Regions from separate parts of the Homo sapiens genome. Here all the other regions are linked to region 6. Evidence: promoter capture Hi-C in 16 types of primary human blood cells and fetal thymus (Javierre and others, 2016). All regions are on one chromosome and are shown on one strand. Each heading gives the region's core, a stretch centred on a gene start or on the middle of the fragment in contact. The rest is flanking DNA. Distances are from core to core; before and after follow the strand shown. Region 1 holds the start of LOC124903555 (a long non-coding RNA gene). Region 2 overlaps IQGAP1 (IQ motif containing GTPase activating protein 1). Region 3 overlaps IQGAP1 (IQ motif containing GTPase activating protein 1). Region 4 overlaps IQGAP1 (IQ motif containing GTPase activating protein 1). Region 5 overlaps IQGAP1 (IQ motif containing GTPase activating protein 1). Region 6 holds the start of MAN2A2 (mannosidase alpha class 2A member 2). Region 7 overlaps CRTC3 (CREB regulated transcription coactivator 3).

Region 1 (2,700 bases), core at 84-2,583, 310 kb before region 6:
GAGAAGGGAATTGAAGAAAAAAGAGGAGAATGTTTATTCACTTATAAAAATTATTTGTTAAGTATGTGCTAGTGGTCAGACACCGTTTTAGACATTTTAATTCACTGTAACAGTAAACAGCATGGTCCCTGACCTCAAGTTGCCCAGGGTTCAGTGGGAGAGGCTACTCAGCAAACAAGCAGCCACGGCAGGTATGGCGTCTGCAGGGAGGCAGCTCAGGGGCTGTGGGAGCACGTCGGAGGTGCAGCTTGAACTAGTCTGGGGAAACGAAGAAGGCATCCTGGGGGAACATCTGAGGCTTGAAGGATAAGAAGTAAGAGGATAAAGTGTTCATTCAGCAGATCTTTACAGAGCCCCGTCTCTGTGCCAGGCACTGTTCTAAGCACTGGGGACCCAGTGATGAATAAGGGAGGCATACTTCCTGCTTTCTTGAGTTCACAGTCCTGTGGGAGATGACAGCAAACAGGCAATAAGAAAGGAAAATGGTTTTAGATGGTAATGAGTGAGATTTAAGAGAGTAAAGCAGTTGGGAGGTATGTTCCAGGCAGAGGGAAGAGAATGTGGTGCAAAGTCCTACCCAGAAGGGGAGATGACTTCTTGTGTTCAGGGGACCCTATCTCTTATGATAGGGTATAATCTGGCACTGTATGGATCAACTTGAGAGCATAAGCAAAGCTAGTCAACTCCTAAAGGAAGGAGAAACAAAAACCAAGTTAATATGCAGAGAAATTAAAGTTATTAGACAGTATGAGTCAGATTCACTGATCATGAGCCATGTCTCTGTGGTCTCCTAAGCTCCTAAATTGGGTTCCTGGGACTGGACATCGGTTGATGCAAAGAAAGTTCTTTAGCCCAGTCTCTTTTGAGGAATCAAGGGTCCGTGAAATGGGATGATTTTATTTTGGTGTTAATCTATTCCACTTGGAGGAGGAGGGCTGTGATTCCGTCTTTGCTTTCACGACCTGCATTCTGTTGGTTGTGAAATAATCTGCTTAAAATTGTGGCCTTGAACATTTGTCTATGACTTTTTAAATGAAGTTTCTTCATTTGAAAGTATAAAACACTAGTTTGAATCTTTGTTAGAACAAAAGGAAAAAATCAGAATTATTATAGCTGTTTCTTGGCTTGGGTGTTATTTAAGACACACTGGCTTAGACAAGGGTTTTAAGGGTTCACTCCTATGATAGGGTGATCTCAAATAAAACGAACATTGTTTAACAAATACTCTGGCCTCCTCTCAGAGTGGGCAGCCACAGCACGCAGAGCTCTGCCACAGGAGATTCCTTCTGGAGTGGGCTTTGCCCTTGGCATGGGTGGCCACACAAGACCAAGGCACAGCTGCAGCTGGGCCCTGGCCTAGCCCCACACAGGCGGAGGAGAGGCACTGCCAGGGCTTGCTCCTGGCTGGGGGCCTGGGCTCGGGCACTTGGAAGAGAAGCTCTTCTGCCCTTCTGCAGATGTGCAGTCTGTAGCAGCCCTTCTTACTCTCACTCATCAAGGTTGGCAGACGTGCCGTGTCCCAAACACCATTGCTAAACTTCTGAACTATTAACATAAATTTATAGCAAATAAAATATTTTCTCAGCCTTGTGGATGACACGCTCAGAAGGAAACACGAAATGCCTTCCTTGAAAGGAAGTCAAGAGTTCACCAGCGTGAAGGGTCGTGAAGAGATGCCTAAGACCTACTAGAGTTAGGAATGATTCTCCTCTCTGGGCTGGGCCTTGCTTTGATTCTTTTCATCATAATGAGATGAAAATGTTAGGACATTGGTTTATAGGACACTGTTTCTTTGAGATGCATGGCCTATTACATTTGAGAAACACCATACTCTGTATCACCTCTTGGAGCCTGACCGTATATATCAGGGCTCTGAAAAGTCCTGCAGTTAATAAACTTCTTATCTTTAACCCAGAATTTCAAAACTTAAGTGATCACAAAATCCAACTGTTACCTAACACCCGTCTTATCTTGAAGGACAAGGAAACATTGGTCTTTAGAATTTTAAGGGGGAAATATTCTGACTTCACAATACCACATGCAACCTGTTTGCCTCTCATTTGCTGAGGGAAACAGGATGTTCTTATAAATGCAAGGACTCAAAAAGATGCCACTCATATCCTCCCTTACAGTTTCACTTTAAGATGTCTTCTAGTGGGACATAGTTAGAGGTAAAGGGACAAAAAGAAGTAGAATGACAATAAACACATGGCTGAGCAATCAGGAAGGAGCCAAATTGTGGCCAGTTTTATATATTAAATCTGACCCTGAAACTTGTCTTGGTAGGTGGGTTCTGTTAACCAGACTCCGAGCCCACTTACCCCACCAGCTACATGGAAGGTCTCAGGCCTGCCCCACAAACTGTGTCCCTGGCAGAACACAGAGTTCCAGAGCAGGAGAGAAATGACTGGCTTCCAGGCTGCCCCGACAAGGCAGTTCCTGAGCCCTGCCCAGGTACACTGACCGCACAGGGACGGGAAGCCAAGAGAAGGGAACCCTGGGCCTGCTCACCCAGCCGCAGGTCAAGCAGCACAAAGAAAGGGCCAGGGCGGGTCTTGTTTTCAGCTTCTGTGGCTCAGTAACCCCACCCACTGGTAAACTGGCCAACTGATGTCCTCTCTTATCAGAAGAAGAAGAGCTGCTCCCCTTCCTTTGGTGAAGAGTAAGAACTGTTCCCTCTAACACTCCACAGGTTGAGAG
Region 2 (2,749 bases), core at 50-2,549, 430 kb before region 6:
TTACAAACATGAGCCACCATGCCCGGCCATCATAAGCTTTTAAAAAAGTTATGTAAGACAGGTCAGGCATGATGGCTCACACCTATAATCCCAGCACTTTGGGAGGCCGAGAAGGGCGGATCACTTGAAGCCAGGAGTTTGAGACCAGCCAGGCCAACATGGTGAAACCCTGTCTCTACTAAAAATTAAAAAAAATTAGCTGGACATGGTAGTACATGCCTGTAATTTCAGCTACTCAGGAGGCTGAGGTGGAAGAATCGCTTGAACCTGGGAGGCAGAGGTTGCAGTGAGCCAAGATTGCATGACTGCACTCCGGACTGGGTGACAGAGTGAAACTCTATCTCCAAAAAAAAAAAAAAAAAAAAAATTATTTAAGACATAAAACAACTTAATTGACAAAATTTTGATAGAGAAAAGAAGATAAATGTCTTCCCCTAATTTCACCTACCCCAGTCATTTTGTATCTTACATTCTTACTTCATATTAAAGGATAAGACTCTTTCCCTATGATAAGTAGTCATAATTTTTTTTTAATTTTATTTTTTGAAACAGAGTTTCCCTCTGTACCCCAGGCTGGAGTGCAGTGGCATGATCATGACTCACTGCAACCTCGACCTCCTAGGCTCAAGTGATTCTCCCACTTCAGCCTCTCAAGTAGCTAGGACGACAGGTGCATGCCACCACGTCTGGCAAATTATATTTTTATAAGAGATAGGGTATCTTTGTATTGCCCAGGCTGGTCTCAAAACTCCTGGGCTCAGGTGATCCTCCTGCCTCAGCCTCCCAAAGTGCTGGGATTACAGGTGTGAGCCGCTGCACCCAGCCATAAATATTATTTTTAACAGTAGCATATTAGATTTTTAGAAGATATACTATGATTTACCTCTTTTTCCCCTAGTATTTGACATTTAGGTTGTTTTCCAAGCGTTTATTATAAATAACATTGCAATTAATGTTTCAATATATATGTAGCTTTTATTGTATTTAAGACTTATTTTTATAATAGACTGCTGGAAGTTGGTTTGCCAATTCAGTGGACATTCTTATGGCTCAGATTCTTTGTTGGAACATAGGAATGGATTTGACTGGTGTACTGAAAACAGGATAAAGTGTAGTGGTTTTTAAATATTCAGTGGGAATCTGCCAGTGCAGTACACCTTCATGTGAGTTTGCACATGCTGCAAAACCTTTCCTCAATGCCCAGAGGTTCATCTTTGAAAGCTTTCTGATCTATTTATTGGTTTTTGTTTATAGGATGTGGTTTCCCACAGTAAAAAACTTACCAAAAAAAATAAGGAACAGTTGTCTGATATGATGATGATAAATAAACAGAAGGGAGGTCTCAAGGCTTTGAGCAAGGAGAAGAGAGAGAAGTTGGAAGCTTACCAGCACCTGTTTTATTTATTGCAAGTAAGTGGCTCCTGGAATCAGTGTTATAAAAATTTAGTGAATTTATTTTTCCACAAGAAAGCCTTACCATCGATCTCTCTGGAAGTATTTTTGACTTCCACTGAGGGGTGAGTGAGGGGCACTGTAACATGTTAATTTATTAATCTTTTTTCTCATATGTATTGTAGTCCTTCAATTTTAAATAATTGAATATATCTTGCCAGCCTTTATATTACCTACAAATGACTTATCCCTTGGTTTTATTTCAGACCAATCCCACCTATCTGGCCAAGCTCATTTTTCAGATGCCCCAGAACAAGTCCACCAAGTTCATGGACTCTGTAATCTTCACACTCTACAACTACGCGTCCAACCAGCGAGAGGAGTACCTGCTCCTGCGGCTCTTTAAGACAGCACTCCAAGAGGAAATCAAGTATGAACAGATTTCCTCAGGGCACAGGCCCCTTCCCACTATCAGAGGGGCTCCCAGTTTGAGATTCATGCCTTCCTGATCTTTTCTTGATCTCAATTAATTTATGAAAAATACTTACTCTAAAGAAGCATCTAATTTTTAAATAACTGATATAAAATCTTGCTGCTTCTAGGGAAGGGATAAATTAACTTTAGGAACATTCTGTATTAAGGTATAATTTCAAAAAGTAATCTGAACAGAAAGAATTCACATTTTTATCTAGTAGCGGACCCAATCATGACCACGATTGAGCGTGCAGCTGCAGGAACATTCTGTGAGTGCTGGGGAATGTTTCGAGAGAAACTGTTTCAGGGAGATAGGATCTTTAAGCAGGAAGGATCTTTTAAGTTGATGGGTTTTGTGACAAGTTTAAATTTTTATCTGATGTTTTATAGGTCGAAGGTAGATCAGATTCAAGAGATTGTGACAGGAAATCCTACGGTTATTAAAATGGTTGTAAGTTTCAACCGTGGTGCCCGTGGCCAGAATGCCCTGAGACAGATCTTGGCCCCAGTCGTGAAGGAAATTATGGATGACAAATCTCTCAACATCAAAACTGACCCTGTGGATATTTACAAATCTTGGGTTAATCAGATGGAGTCTCAGACAGGAGAGGCAAGGTATGTTAACCATAATGACACTTTTCTTTCATGTTGTTATAGTCTTTCCCTCTTTTTTCCCCTCTCTTTATTTATAAACTAATATTAGTTCAAATAGTTTTTCTTTTCTTTTCTTTTTTTAGACAGAGTTTCACTCTTGTCGTCCAGGCTGGAGTACAGTGGCATAATCTCAGCTCACTGCAGCCTCCACCTCCCAGGTCTAAGCAATTCTCATGCCCCAGCCTCCCGAGTAGCTGGGATTACAGTTGCACGCTACCACACCTGTCTG
Region 3 (2,821 bases), core at 79-2,578, 450 kb before region 6:
AGGCTTAAATATGTTACATAGTCAAAATAACACTATCTCTGACAAAGTTAAATAATACTTTTTAAATATCATCTAACCCTAGCTAGTTCATTTTCATTCTTCATTTGTTCCCAAACTGTCCTTTATAGCTGTTTTGTTGAAAACAAGATCTAGCCTAGGAACATGTATTATATCTGGCTGTTGTGTCCCTTGAGTATCTTTTAATCTAGAATTGTCCCTTTCTTCATGAGACTGACTTGTTAAAGGGATGGGACCAATTGCCTATTTTATGGATAGTTCTAGTTGCTTTCTCATATTTGCCTTATTCCTGTAAATTGGAAATTAAATTTCTAGGCTTGTCACGATTCAGTTCAACATTTTTGATGATGTGTATTTCATATTGCCTCATATCAATAGGCATATAAAACCCACTTTTCCCACCATCCCACCATTAGAGATACTAAGATTGATCCCTGGATTAGGGAGACCACTTATACTTCCATTGCGTATTTACGCTTTTCCCTCATCACTAGAACATCATCTCTTTTGCACCGTCAAAATATCTAGTTTTCCATTAAGCATTCACGTGATATTTTTAACCCAATTGATAATCTTTCCTAAATCAGTACCTTCAGTAAAAGTTGCTGAATGATGATTTGTTGCTCTGTCATTCCTCCTGCATTTATTAGCTCATGTGTAGCCTTTTTTTCTTGTCTATGGAGGAATTGCTTGAACTGCTGCCTTTAATTCTAGAGTTAGTCTTAACATGGAATTTAGAATATGTAACAGGATATTGAGAATAAGTGATTTCTGTTGCATTTTTGCACTTTGTTTAAAGTAACTGTGCAGTTCCAAAACTGGTCTTGAGAATATATCAAATGGTTGGGATACCCTAGCAATCTTTGTTCCTTGAATATTTAAACATGCTGTGCTTAATGCTCTTTTTACTTGGGGGTCTGGGGCAGGTATCTCGATGAGTTGATGAAACTGAAGGCTCAGGCACATGCAGAGAATAATGAATTCATTACATGGAATGATATCCAAGCTTGCGTGGACCATGTGAACCTGGTGGTGCAAGAGGAACATGAGAGTGAGTTATCTTCCTGTCCTCCCCAAATAATGTCACCATTAATGATGATGTGATTCCATGAAGTGGTTCAAAATACTACTCCTAGAAGGATTTTTGGGTGAGAGATTGAAAATATCTATATAACACAAAAGGCTAAAGTTGGATATTGTTTTGAGAACACCAGGCAATTGCTATAATTAGGTATATGTCCAGTAAGAACTAAATTTTGGGGGAGGTGAATTGAACATGATCTGTTATTTTTAAATGCTGTTATAACAAGTAGTCCTGACACTACATGGAATTAGGTTGAATTGCACAGGTTGTAGGCATGGTCCTCCACAAGACTCCTCTCACTTCAGACACAAGCTGAAAGCTGCAGGGTTCCCAGGCCACTGTACTTCTGAACAACTGGCTGCAAATTTGGAGGATCCCTTCTACCCGCTCAGGTTTAATAATTTGCTAGAATGACTCACAGAACTCAAGAAAATGCTAGACTTACGATTAAAATTTTATTACAAAATATGTAAATCAGGATCAGCTGAAAGAAGAGAATCATCAGGCAATATCTGTGAGAGTCCCCAATATGAAGCTTCTGTGTTCTCAGGATGTGTCACTCTCCTGGCACATTGACGTGTATCACCAACCAGGGAAACACACCTGAGTTTTGGGTGTCCAGAGTTTTTATTTGGGTTCGTTACATATGCGTGATTGATAGTATTGGCTTTGCGATTAAACTCAATTTTCATTTGGCCTCTGCTCCCTGGAGAATGGGAGGCCAGGCTGGTATCACGTGACTCTATACCTCAGTGGTTGATCTTTCCAGCATGGCCAGCCTCCATCCTTAAACTCTCATGAGGCCAACCAGGAGTCATTGGTTGGCATAAATTCAGGTGTGGGCGGAGGGGCCCACCATGAATCACAGAAACATACCTATCACTCAGGATATCCCAAGGGTCTTAGACGCTCCCCCAGAGACAAAGACCAGCCAGACTTTTTATTATACAGCAGAGTCCTTACAAAAGCAGTACGGCTGCCTAAGATACCTGGGGAGTGAACGTTCCTAATTTTAATTTGTATTTCCTGGGAGAAATATTCAACTGACTTGGTGGGAAGAGCCTTGCTTCGCATTAGGGAGCCCTGCGCTTGGATCTTTCTTCTGCCATTTGTTTGCTGTGTAATCTTGGAGAAGAGATTGCTAAGCCTTGTTATTTCTTCTATAAAAGTGTTGAATTAGATGACTTTTTAAGAACCCTTGAACCTTTTTAAGACTCTTCGTGAATCCTTTGTGACTCAAGAATGTTTTTGATTACACATTCCAGTGTACCTGAAAGCTATACAGTAAGGCCAGTTTCATAAAAATCCTCATCGCTTTTAAGTTAGAGCAATTAAAAATGAAACAAAAGGACTTGAGCATTCAATAGGAATATGAATACAAGTGAGTTTAGTTGAAATAAATACTAATTAAAAAATGAAAACAGTGCTGCTTAACGGATGGTAAGTTGCAGTTTGAATCATGGTTACTCTTAGGTGGATTTATGATTAGTTAGCATGTTCCATGATTGATTTGTTTATGTACTTCCTTAATTAGAAAAAAAAAACTTTCTGTCTCTTTATATTTAGGGATTTTAGCCATTGGTTTAATTAATGAAGCCCTGGATGAAGGTGATGCCCAAAAGACTCTGCAGGCCCTACAGATTCCTGCAGCTAAACTTGAGGGAGTCCTTGCAGAAGTGGCCCAGCATTACCAAGACACGCTGATTAGAGCGAAGAGAG
Region 4 (2,820 bases), core at 169-2,668, 400 kb before region 6:
AACCATACCCTTACGATGTTATCTTTCAACAGGTTTAAAAATGTTATATTTGAAATCAGTCCAACAGAAGAAGTTGGAGACTTCGAAGTGAAAGCCAAATTCATGGGAGTTCAAATGGAGACTTTTATGTTACATTATCAGGTGGGTATGCACCAGCAGGAACCAAAAACTTTCTGGATGAGATTCTTGTCCAAGTAGGAGAAATAGATAAAGAGGAGACTCATCTGAGGAAAGCTGTCTACATTCAGCAGTGAGCTAGGCTCCACACTGCGGGGAAAGAAGCTGAGGGTTTCAGCATGTCTGGTTTGGTGTGTGCGCTCTGGAGAGCTTTTGCAGATGTCACTCTTCAGAAAACATTTAGCTGAAGCTTCCACTTAGTGCTGCCACTAAATCGAGCTGACACCTTGGACTTGAACAAAATGCAGAAGTACACATGCTGACACTGCAGAATTCTAAGCCCACTCAGTAGCTTGAAATCTTTTTGTCATTTTGATTTGATATAGGTACTTAAAAGTTAGATACATTCTGACAAGGTGTGTGTAAAGTTTATGTTTGTAAACTGAATTCTATCTTAAATCCAAAAAGAACTCGGGAGTAATTCATTTTTGTAGCATAAAGATCCCTAAGTTTTATTTTGAAATATCTGATTTTTACACGTTAAAAAATAACAGGGCATCGAGAGGATTCCTAGGTGACATCCAGACTCCTTTAGCTTTGTGTGTGTGGCACCGGTTAGTCTGCTTCTCTCTCCTTTCTTGCACTGCTTCACACAGCCATGCCCTGCCAGCCCGGGCAGGTGCCTTCCTGTCAATGTACATTTGGGCTTCTGCTCATGCTGCCCTCCCTCCCCTCCCCTGCCTCCCAACCCCGCCCCTTTTGTTCCTCCATGGAGTACTTCCATGGGTGTGCCTCCCCCAGCCAAGCCATAATAGGTGGTTTCCCCTTCGCTTCTGTAGCCCTTGCAGACATCCTCTGTTTACAGTAGGTGTTGACTTACTTCCCCTCTCCCCGCTAAAGCCATAAACTCCTTAAGGACAGGTAGCATTTCTTAGTCATCTTCGTTTCCTTCTCAATGACCAGTAGACCATTAAAACATGTTAGCTAAACAAATGTGAAATGATTTTGTGATGCACACAGCTAACTAAAGTACTTCCACCAAAAAAAAAAAAAGAATAGGAACCTCTTATTCCCTCAGTTTCACCAAATTATTTTTTTAATTTAAAATTTTTTATTTACGTGGAGTTATCAGAACATATTTTTATTTTTAAATTTTTTAACCAAATCATGTTAGGCCAACCAGTCTGCCTGTGGTAATTTATTAATTTATGTACAAATTCATTAAATGTGGGGTAACTGCCAGGTGTGGGGTATTCTGTTAGGCACAGGTCCCAGCAGCCCTCATGGAGCTGCTAGGATTTTTCCAACAGATAATTGAACTTGTGGGGTCCTTTCTTTTTTTGGAGGGGGGGGCAGAGTCTCGCCCTGTCTCCCAGACTGGAGTGTAGTGGCGTGTTCTCCATTCACTGCAACCTCCACCTCGTGGGTTCAAGTGATTCTCCTGCCTCAGCCTCCTGAGTGGCTGGGATTACAGGCGCACACCATCACGCCCGGCTAATTTTTTTTTTTTTTGAGACAGTTTCGCTCTTATTGCCCAAGCTGCAGTGCAATGGCACAATCTCGGCTCACTGCAACCTCCGCCTCCTGGGTTCAAGTGATTCTCCTGCCTCAGCCTCCTGAGTAGCTGAGAATATAGGCGTGCACCACCACGCCCCAACGCCCAGCTAATTTTTGTATTTTTAGTAGAAACAGGGTTTCGCCATGTTGGCCAGGCTGGTCTCTAACTCGTGACTTCGTGATCCGCCTGCCTCGGCCTCCCAAAGTGCTGGGATGACAGGCGTGAGCCACCACACCCGGCCTTGTGGGGTCCTTTCAAGACTTTTGACCCTTGCTTTCTCATCACCACTCTTATAAAGTTCAGAAGTGAGACCACTCAGATTTCTTAAACTTGTTCAGGACAATGGTGAAAGTAGCAGGAAAAGCGGGAGCATTGCAGTCAGATCTGGATTTATCGCCTCCATCTCTGTCCTGTTGTGCAAGTCATTTAACATCTCTGAGTCTCAGTAGCTCATCTTTAAAGTTAGAATAATCGCACCTCATAAAAATTTTTGTGAGGACTTTAAAAGATACTATGTAATGTGCTTACACAATGCCAAGCACATGGCAGACACCTAATAAAACATCAAGTTCTCTCTTTTCCCCTTGCCTTCGGGATAGAAAGTGTTCTCATATGGAATAGAAATTAAGAATCTATCAGATAGTATTAAGGTGACATTACTAGCCTTATCTCATTTCCCCGTGCTTAGTATATTTCATCATAGGTTTAAATGCTTCACCTTTTCCAGATTTATTAAAACTAGTGACCCATAACATGGATGAAATGGGAAAATGTCATTGTGACTTCTGAAATAAAAAGCTTAGATGTGTGTGGCAATTGAACATGTTTCTTTTTCTTTCCATGTATGATGAATTTTGATATGAACAACATGACTTCCTAACTCCAAATCAACCAGAAGCCTCCCTTGGCCAATGTGCCCTATTGCTCCAGCTCTCAGGCTGGTTGTGCAGTGGGTAGTTGCCTAGCGTGGAACTTTTCTTTCGCCCCAGTTCACATCTGGCACACAAGGCAGGCCTCAGTCCATCTGGATCCCTCCCTACATTGTGTCCTTTTTCCTTGTTCCACAGACTTGATTAACTGTCAAAATGTTTTGTTTTGTTTTGTTTTGTTTTGTTAATAGGACCTGCTGCAGCTACAGTATGAAG
Region 5 (2,758 bases), core at 151-2,650, 460 kb before region 6:
CACGTCTCACGTGGCAGGAACAAGAGGAAGAGAGAGGTGGGGAGGTGCTTACATACTTTTAAAAAACCAAATCTAGCGATAACTCACTCACTGTTAGGAGAACAGCACCAAGGGGGAAACCTGCCCCCATTGATCCAATCACCTCTCACCAGGCCCCCACCTGGGGATTACAATTTGACATGAGATTTGGACAGGGACACAGACCCAAACCATATCAGCAACATTCTTGAACTTTCTTAAAATTTCTTGTTCGCTATTTCCAAGTAGGAATAAATGAGAAAGAAATTCTTGGAGAAAAATATTCTCTTAATTAAGAATGCAGATGTGATGTATTAGTGAGAAAAATATATAAAAAATATATAAAAATGTATAAAAATATATAGAAAGTTATTAGTTATTTTGCTTTGGAATTTCTTTTTTAAAGAGGCAGGGTCTTACTCTTTTGCCTAGGCTGGAACGCAGAGGTGTGATCTTGACTCATTGTAACAACCTCCCAGGCACAAGCTATCCTCCTGCCTTAGCCTCCCAAATGGCTAGGACTACAGGCATGCACCACCATACCTGGCTAATTAAGAAATTTTTTTTGTAGAGACAAGTCTTGCTATGTTGCTCAAGCTGTTTTGAATTCCTGACCTCAAGCTATCCTCCTGCCTCTCTTTCTCAAAGTACTGGAATTACAGGTGTGAGCCACTACACCCAGTCTGGAGAATTTTTTGAATACATTTAAAATCTTCTGAGACAGGCGCTTTATATATCCATCTTGAGTCTTTTACCTGAAAGAAAAGCATTTAATCATATACACATGACTTATACTTGCACTTCTCTGAGAAAATGTTTAGCTTCTGTGGATGTATAAATTCTAGTGTGTTTTGAGAATACTTGATTTTTGTTTTTCTATTATACATTTGGGTTTATTATATACAATTTAAATTTTGATCAGTTCTGTGATTGCAGTGTACATGATGCGTGTTTGTATTTAGATGATATTGAGGTTTATAGATTATTTACAAAAACTGTATACCACTTTAAGTTTCTATGATTTATTTCTTATATATTTCTTATTTCCCTGCTTACTTTAAACTGTCAATATCTTGCTTTTGTCAGTATCTGTAAAGTACCCTTCTGATCTCTTCTAATTTATTGATTCTGATCAGTTAGGGCTTTAGAATCCACTTAATAACACAGGCTTATGGACATTAATTTATCCGTCCATCCATCTGTCAAATATTGATTAATGTTTATTAATATATGCTAGGCTCTGGGTAAACATTAGTGAATGAGCCCTGTATTGTCCCTGCTTTCATGAAGCTTAGAGTCTAGTTGATTTTTTTTTAAGTTTAAAAAGTAAAAATAATTTTCACCAACCTGATAATTAAAAAGTAAAAATATATGAAATATTCTTTATCTAAAACTGTTAAATTACCTGGATTAAACTTTTCCATCAGTAATATGAATTCAGTTTAAGTAAGATTTGCCATCTGAATCATTTTTATGAAGCTTTTCTAAAATGTCTTATTATTTAAAACTTATTGATTACAGGAAGGCAAACAAATGAAGAGACACTTCACATTATATTAACATTAATGTTAACATCTTTTTTTTTTTTGAAACGGAATCTCACACTGTTGCCCAGGCTGGAGTACAGTGGTGTGATCTCGGCTCACTGCAGCCTTTGCCTCCCAGGTTCAAGCAATTCTCCTGCCTCAGCCTCCTGAATAGCTGGGATTACAGGCACATGCCACCACGCCTGGCTAATTTTTGTATTTTTAGTAGAGACAGGGTTTTGTCATGTTGGCCAGGCTGGTCTCAAGCTCCTGATGTCAGGTGATCCGCCCACCTCAGCCTCCCAAAGTGCTGGGATTACAGGCATGAGCCACTGTGCCTGGCCATTAACATCTAATTATGCATTGAGTTTGTGCCAGAACCGGGACTTTAATTTGTGCCTACTGATTTCTCCCAGTCCAGTGCTCTTTGCATTGTGTTATGTGACTTTTTAGGACAATGTTGTCATGTAAACTAAAAAAAAAAAACTGAGGTAAATAGCGTATTGTAACTACAAAGGAGACTGTCGTAGGTACTGGGAGTCTCAGTGTTCAGAATACTTCTATTTTATACTTCATGCTGATTTTCGCCTTTTAAGGGTGGCAGCTAGGCACAGCTGGGAGGCCTAACCTTTTGCATATTGTATCTTCTAGTTTGTACCTGTTCAAGCTAGGCCTGGCCCCTCAGATTCAAGACCTATATGGAAAGGTTGACTTCACAGGTAAGGAGTTAGATACTTGGCAGGAAATGCTTGAATTATGTGGAAATAGCCTGGAGAGCCAGCAGTACCAATTTTGAAGACCTAGGGCTTTAAAAATACACTGGCAGTGGAGGTGAAAAAAATACGAATAACTTGCTTCTCTAATGTGGGGTAAAGAACACTAAACTTGAAATTTCAAGCTCTGTTCTCTCACTTAATAATGTGAACATGATTAGTGAGTCTCAGTTTTCTTATATGTAAATTGGGGATAACATTAACATATATAAAACATAATAATGTTAACACATAACACTAAATGTTCGGGTATGTTGAAAAAAGCTTTATAACTATCTTTCCCTTTCCATTCCAGCAAGCATCTGTTGTGGGCAAAGCAAGAGGGAGAGTGGGGAGTGAGATGACACAAAGATGCCAATTTAGTAATTTTAAAATTTAAGCTTATTTGGGTGGGTGTTTCTATGTGTATTTGCTATAGCCAGATGCTTGAAGAGATGAGGG
Region 6 (2,801 bases), core at 17-2,516:
CCGGCACTAATCCCATTCATGAGAGCTCTCCCTTCAAACTCTGTTCACCCCCAAAGGCCCATCTCCTAATACCATCATCACCTTGAGGGATTAGGATTTGAACATGAATTTGGGGGGTCACATTCAGATAATGTTATATATAACTTAAAAAGAACAAAAATGTGGAATTCATGGAGATGTTCATTGCAGTATGGATTACACTGAAAAACTGTAAACAACCTAGATGCCCAGTAAAAGGGAAACAGCCAAGAAAAGTCTGTGTCTTGTTCACTCGCTGGCAGGAAACATAGAGCAGGCACGGAAAGGAAAGGGACTCGAGGAATGCGCTGTACCGACAGGAGGCAGCACCCCTTTGCCCGAGGGGCGCAACGACAGAGACCTAAGGCTACCTGGGCCGGAGCCGGGTGAGGCCGCGGAGAACGCACCCCGCTACGCGTCTGCCGAGACGGAGGCGGGCGTTTCGACCACTGCCCGATCATGCGCTTACTCAAGTAGGATTCCGAAAAAATTCAGTCGCGCGTCCCTCCTGAGGTTCCGCAGCTGGCCAGGCCCGGCCCGGGCTGGTGCGGCTGCGCACTGCAGCCCAGCGGAGCGGGCCCGGGAGGAGCCGGGCGGGGACCGCGGCGGCCAGAGCTCCTGTCAGCTCCGCCGGGCACACGCAGGCCGGGGCGGGCGGCGCGGCTGTCCCCGCCCCGCACGCTGCTGGGCCCGGCAGCTTCAGAGGCTGGCGGACCCGCGCGGGGCCGGCGCAGCGGAGCGCGCCGGCGGCCCGGGGCCCAGCGGGAGCGCGGCAGCGGCGCGCGGAGCAGGGGGCTACGGGTGGGCGGGCGCCCGCCTTCGCCTGCGTCGCTGCCTGCACGCGGGCCGCCGTCCCCGGGCGTGTGAGAGCCGGCAGCTCGGCCGACTGGGCCCGGAGCGGCGCGGAGGCCGGGCGCTGACGGTAACGGGCCGGGTGCGCGCGCGGGAGGGCTCCGGCTGCCCCGACAGAGGCCGGGCTCGGGCGGCGGGAGTGCGAGCGCCACTGCGGCGTCAGAGGGGCCAGGAAGGGACAGGAGGCTGCCTGAGGCCCGTACCTGGCGCCTGTCTCTGCGGTCCCCGGGGCCGACGAAGTCGGAGCGGGTGGGGAGGGAGCCGGGCGGGCGGCCAGAGACCTGGCGGCAGGTGCCTGCCCTCTGTGATCCAACTCTCTCCCCAGCTCCACCCACATTGGCCTAGACCCAGTCTCTAAGGGCTGAAAATATTGCCCGGAAGCTCCCGAGCAGAATCAGATCGCGCTAAGTAGGGCACAACGCAGAGGCGACAAAGCTCCTCGGCCCCAGGGCCCGCGGAGCAGACTCCGGAGCGCGGTCCCGCCCACGCTCGGCTCCGCAGTTAGCGTCCTCCTTCCTCCTGAGCAGGCAAGCGGAGCCCGAGGGCGGTGGCGGCGGGGGGCACGGGTCCCCTGAAGTTGCCTCGCAGCTGAGCACTGGGCCCCGTCTCTCCCTTCCCAGGGGGCCTTCGGCGTCACTGCAGGCTTCCTAGGGGTCCCCTAAGTGCTCTGCAAACCGCGGCTGGAAGTTTCCCACTGCAGTGAACAGTAGAGAAACAGGGAGAACACACAGGGCTTGCTTTATGCTAGAAACACAAGCATCTTTCTTCTTTATTAGAAAGAAACTCATTCTGTGTTTCTGAGAAAGGATCGTGCCAGGCACTGTTTCTGGTGAGTGCCAGTTTGACCCGAAAGGGCACTGAGAAAGGCTTTCCTATCAGTCTCTTTGGGTTCTGGCTAAACTTTTAAATCAAACAAAATAGAGACTAGCTTATTCACCTGAAACTAGAAGCACATGGCCGAGGAGCCTGAACAGGCACCTCCTATCTAGGCAGGGAAGCTGTGTAATCAGGAGCTTGTGTGGTGCGCTCCAGTCGGAGCTGGGACTCTTATCCTGGGCCCGTTTTTCATAGCACCAGCCAAAGGAGAGCGTCCTCTCCACCCTAGCGGCAGAGCTGCTACCAGGACCAGGTGGGCCAGCCTCAGATGTGCTGCTTGTGCTACTTGGAGCCAGGCAAATGGGTGTTCCTTTGGAACAGCCCTCAGGAACTCACTGGGGTATTTGGTGGAAAGACTGCCACGGGCATTTTGCATGTTGGAGCTACAGATGGTGTCCTTCCTGCCAGGTGTGTGTGGAGGCCAGTATGAAGCTGAAAAAGCAGGTGACAGTGTGTGGGGCTGCCATCTTCTGTGTGGCAGTCTTCTCGCTCTACCTCATGCTGGACCGAGTGCAACACGATCCCACCCGACACCAGAATGGTGGGAACTTCCCCCGGGTGAGTCGTGCCTGGTTGCTAATTTCTTTGTATACAAGTCACCTGGGCTCAGGGTATGCACCTCCCACCCCGCCGCCTCCCCTCCCACCCCCCGCTGGAGGGTAATGTCAGTACAGGACAGGAGCCTTCCTTCCCAATAGTCAGGTTTTGTAGAAACCCTCAGCTAAAAACAGTGATGGCGAAAAGAAGGAAGGAAGAAAAAATGTCAATGGCAATGAGTATTGTCACTCTGTTCTCCTGAATTCTTTTCTTTCTTTTTTTTTTTTTTGAGACAGAGTCTCGCTCTGTCGCCCAGCCTTGAGTGCAGTGGCGCGATCTTGGCTCACTGCAACCTCCGCCTCCCAGGTTCAAGCAATTCTCCTGCCTCAGCCTCCCAAGTAGCTGGGACTACAGGAGCCTGCCACCATGCCCGACTAATTTTTGTATTTTTAGTAGAGACGAGACGAGGTATCGCCATGTTGGCCAGGCTGGTCTTGAACTCCTGACCTCAGGTGATC
Region 7 (2,700 bases), core at 109-2,608, 340 kb before region 6:
GACACCTCTAAATCCTGACTTCCAGTTTACGTCACTGATGATGGCTCTCATCCTTGGTTCTACCAGATTCTTGAAAGAGAATGTGTTTTCTCAGAGCCAAGTAGACCCAAACATTTCCCAGACTTTGGCCACATAATCAGAAATTTCAAAAGAGTTCTGGAATTTGTGGGCTTAGCTCCAAGTTACCAGGCATCCGTTGTCTTCCCTGTGGGCAGAATTCGCTTTTAGCTTACTCCACCCTCCTCAGCTACGCAGCATGATTGGGGCAGACGATGAATACTTCAGATATCCCCTGTGGGGTTAACTCCAGAGGCAGCCTCAGAAACTAGACACATAATTCATATGGTCAAAACCTGGCAGGCTCTTCTGAAATCGTGTGACTTCCTATCAGGCCACCAGCTCTGCAGATCCTCAAAGGTCTGGCTGTCAGAACAATAGGGAATGAGAGCAGCGCCCAGATGCTGCCTGCTGGAGCTGCAGGTCCTGTTTGAGTCTGAACAATAAAAGTCCTGGAATGAATTACCAAGGCTCCTGATTGCACCCTGCAGGTTCAGGTTTAGTTTGTGGAGATGTCTCACATAAGAACTGTCTTGTAAGCCGCTTGGGGGGTTCAACAAAATTGGTCAACAAAATTTAATACCATACAAGCCCTTTTCTTGATCAAGCAATTTAGTAAGTCTCTGTCATAAGTCTCTATGACCTGCCATCCAATATGTCAAAATAAACAAAATTTTCATGTTGATGGTCACAAGTGCAGTCCCTAGAGTGGGGATCTGGTGACCACTTCCACCACTAACTAGCACTGGATCGTAGACAAGATCGTTAGTCTCTCTGTGTCTCAGCTCACTCATCTGCAAGATGTGGCTACTAATAGTACCTAAGATAGAGCTATTGGGAGGATTAAGTTAGGTAATGCATGTAAATCCTTAGAATAATGCCCAGCACAGTTGTTGTTCAATACATATTGCAAAGTTCCTAGTATAAACTCCCTGTTGCAGCCTTCTAATTTGACTTCAATAGATTGTTGGTACCATTTGCCTCTTTCTTTGCAGGTATCCTACCTAGGCCTAGAGAACTAAGCTTTTGCTGTTCATTATATGAAGCTTCTTAAATGTCATACAGGCTAGTTGCATCCTACTAATTCTTCACAGACTAGATAAAAATACTTTTGCTGAAGTCTTAATCGGCCTGTCCTGAAGTCAACCAGGCTGTATGTTAGTGCCTTGACTCAGTGCAGCTTTCAAGAGAGGCAGAAAGAATACCCACAGAGAAGGCACATGTGGGCGGTGGCAGTGTAGGACCAGGAAAGAAGCTAGGTCTCTATATTCCCTCGCATTTTGAATCTGTGTTAAATTCAATCATATTAGTATGAAGCAATCCTCTTACCTATCTCCTTAATCCAGCCTCTGACTGCCAGCTCACAAAAGAGGGAGAAGAGGCACTACATTTAAAGTAGTGATTATCTCTAACTAGAATTTTAAGTCCCTACATGTTTTGGCTGTAGAACCAGCCAAAGTTTTGTTCCAATTCCCTACAAAATTTCACAATAGTCAGGAGTTAGAATTGGTCCCTATGTTATGAAACAGCTAGTTTTTATACTTTAAACTTAAAATGAAGCTTTAGTTGTTTATTATTACTGTGGATATTTTCCAAGAGACAGAATAACATCTGTGGAAGATTCTACACAGGCCTTGATGCCAGACATTGTAATTATTTCCCTGCTCAAAGGCAATAGTCAGTGCCTCAAGGAACTCCCTGGCTATAAGCAGTTGGCTGCCTCGACAACAGATAGCTAATGTCTTAGCTCTTTTCTGTCTCTACCGCCAGCCTCTTGGGGATGTGACTTGAGAAAGCTCTCCCCTCCCCATTTTCTCCTGTAACCTCTTTGGAGGAAGTCACCAGGGTAACCACTTTCTTTTATGCTAGTTTTCTTGAGTGCAAGGGAAAACACTTCCCCACAGACATATGACAGAAGTTTAAGAGTGGTGAGGAGAAGAACACGAACAGTTACTGAGTACCTGAGCTATGCTTTGTGTACCTGATATCATTGAGTTCCCACATCAACCTTCTGAGATAGGCATTATCATCCCCATTTTACTGATGCTTAAACAGTAACATGCCCAAGGTCACACAAGTGGCAAGTGACAGTCAGGACTCAAACCCAGGTTTATCTTTCTCGGGCCTTTGCTCTTATTTTGCAAATTAAGCAAGTGTAGACACACAAAACCAATTTGTTTTTACCTAGGAAACGTGTTTTATGCTTTGTTTTTCTCAGTCTGGATAGATGCCGTTTTCTAGTCCCCTGGAACCATCGTATGCCCAGTTTAGTACCACTTTTGTTTGGTTTCTCGTCTTAGAATATATTCTGCTTATTCACTCCCCCGGCCACCTGAGAAATCTTTTTACTACTTTTAGTCCAAATCAAACTTTCCTTCCCTTGACTACCTAGGAAGTCTCTCCTTGGGTGAGTCTTAACTCGCCTGAACTGAGAGTCTCACCCTGGAACTTGGTTAAGAAAGGCCAGAGTTGGGAGGCAACAGCCTGGATGGAAGAGGGGGGTCAGTTGACACTGGAGGGGGCAAGCCAGACCAGCCGCAAGCAGGAGCCAAAAGGTCAGAAAGCCAGTGAGAATGGGGTGGGCCAACAGGAGCAGACCAGGCCACACAGGCTGTGACTCCCCCTTGCAGTGGCTGCTGGGCA

What was found. Contacts are between HindIII fragments. The CHiCAGO score rates a contact against its expected background, and 5 or more counts as called.
Region 1: a contact is called between a fragment that was not itself captured here and the fragment with the promoter of MAN2A2 in region 6, in 1 of 17 cell types (erythroblasts). The highest score is 5.3, in erythroblasts.
Region 2: a fragment that was not itself captured here is called in contact with the fragment with the promoter of MAN2A2 in region 6 in 1 of 17 cell types (naive B cells); the score reaches 7.6 in naive B cells.
Region 3: a contact is called between a fragment that was not itself captured here and the fragment with the promoter of MAN2A2 in region 6, in 1 of 17 cell types (activated CD4 T cells). The highest score is 5.5, in activated CD4 T cells.
Region 4: a fragment that was not itself captured here is called in contact with the fragment with the promoter of MAN2A2 in region 6 in 3 of 17 cell types (M1 macrophages, activated CD4 T cells and erythroblasts); the score reaches 6.1 in M1 macrophages.
Region 5: a contact is called between a fragment that was not itself captured here and the fragment with the promoter of MAN2A2 in region 6, in 3 of 17 cell types (total B cells, naive B cells and activated CD4 T cells). The highest score is 6.1, in total B cells.
Region 7: a fragment that was not itself captured here is called in contact with the fragment with the promoter of MAN2A2 in region 6 in 6 of 17 cell types (monocytes, M0 macrophages, naive B cells and 3 more); the score reaches 6.7 in monocytes.

What each region holds. Positions count from the first base shown.
Region 1 is chr15:90,595,758-90,598,457 of GRCh38, forward strand. All of the region lies in intron 3 of CRTC3 (CREB regulated transcription coactivator 3), which reads left to right. LOC124903555 (a long non-coding RNA gene) reads right to left here and starts at 221. Exons shown (of 2, transcript XR_007064758.1): 1 at 134-221. RefSeq lists enhancers at 203-272, 2,440-2,700. The HindIII fragment of the contact is 4,338 bases long and covers 1-2,700 here.
Region 2 is chr15:90,475,409-90,478,157 of GRCh38, forward strand. IQGAP1 (IQ motif containing GTPase activating protein 1) reads left to right here. Exons shown (of 38, transcript NM_003870.4): 24 at 1,255-1,410; 25 at 1,659-1,822; 26 at 2,257-2,481. Among named protein-coding and RNA genes, the nearest start is that of CRTC3, 53 kb to the right of the region's middle. The HindIII fragment of the contact is 160 bases long and covers 1,220-1,379 here.
Region 3 is chr15:90,453,484-90,456,304 of GRCh38, forward strand. IQGAP1 (IQ motif containing GTPase activating protein 1) reads left to right here. Exons shown (of 38, transcript NM_003870.4): 14 at 945-1,069; 15 at 2,669-2,821. Among named protein-coding and RNA genes, the nearest start is that of IQGAP1, 67 kb to the left of the region's middle. RefSeq lists an enhancer at 2,668-2,821. The HindIII fragment of the contact is 613 bases long and covers 1,023-1,635 here.
Region 4 is chr15:90,497,200-90,500,019 of GRCh38, forward strand. IQGAP1 (IQ motif containing GTPase activating protein 1) reads left to right here. Exons shown (of 38, transcript NM_003870.4): 37 at 33-141; 38 at 2,796-2,820. Among named protein-coding and RNA genes, the nearest start is that of CRTC3, 31 kb to the right of the region's middle. The HindIII fragment of the contact is 2,106 bases long and covers 366-2,471 here.
Region 5 is chr15:90,437,137-90,439,894 of GRCh38, forward strand. IQGAP1 (IQ motif containing GTPase activating protein 1) reads left to right here. Exons shown (of 38, transcript NM_003870.4): 6 at 2,196-2,263. Among named protein-coding and RNA genes, the nearest start is that of IQGAP1, 50 kb to the left of the region's middle. RefSeq lists a silencer at 1-128. The HindIII fragment of the contact is 189 bases long and covers 1,307-1,495 here.
Region 6 is chr15:90,902,036-90,904,836 of GRCh38, forward strand. MAN2A2 (mannosidase alpha class 2A member 2) reads left to right here and starts at 1,267. Exons shown (of 23, transcript NM_006122.4): 1 at 1,267-1,397; 2 at 2,155-2,304. The coding sequence starts at 2,173. RefSeq lists enhancers at 308-357, 2,198-2,257 and silencers at 528-797, 818-1,247. The HindIII fragment of the contact is 23,300 bases long and covers 1-2,801 here.
Region 7 is chr15:90,560,254-90,562,953 of GRCh38, forward strand. The region is part of intron 2 of CRTC3 (CREB regulated transcription coactivator 3); the gene reads left to right. Among named protein-coding and RNA genes, the nearest start is that of CRTC3, 32 kb to the left of the region's middle. RefSeq lists an enhancer at 2,628-2,700. The HindIII fragment of the contact is 514 bases long and covers 1,102-1,615 here.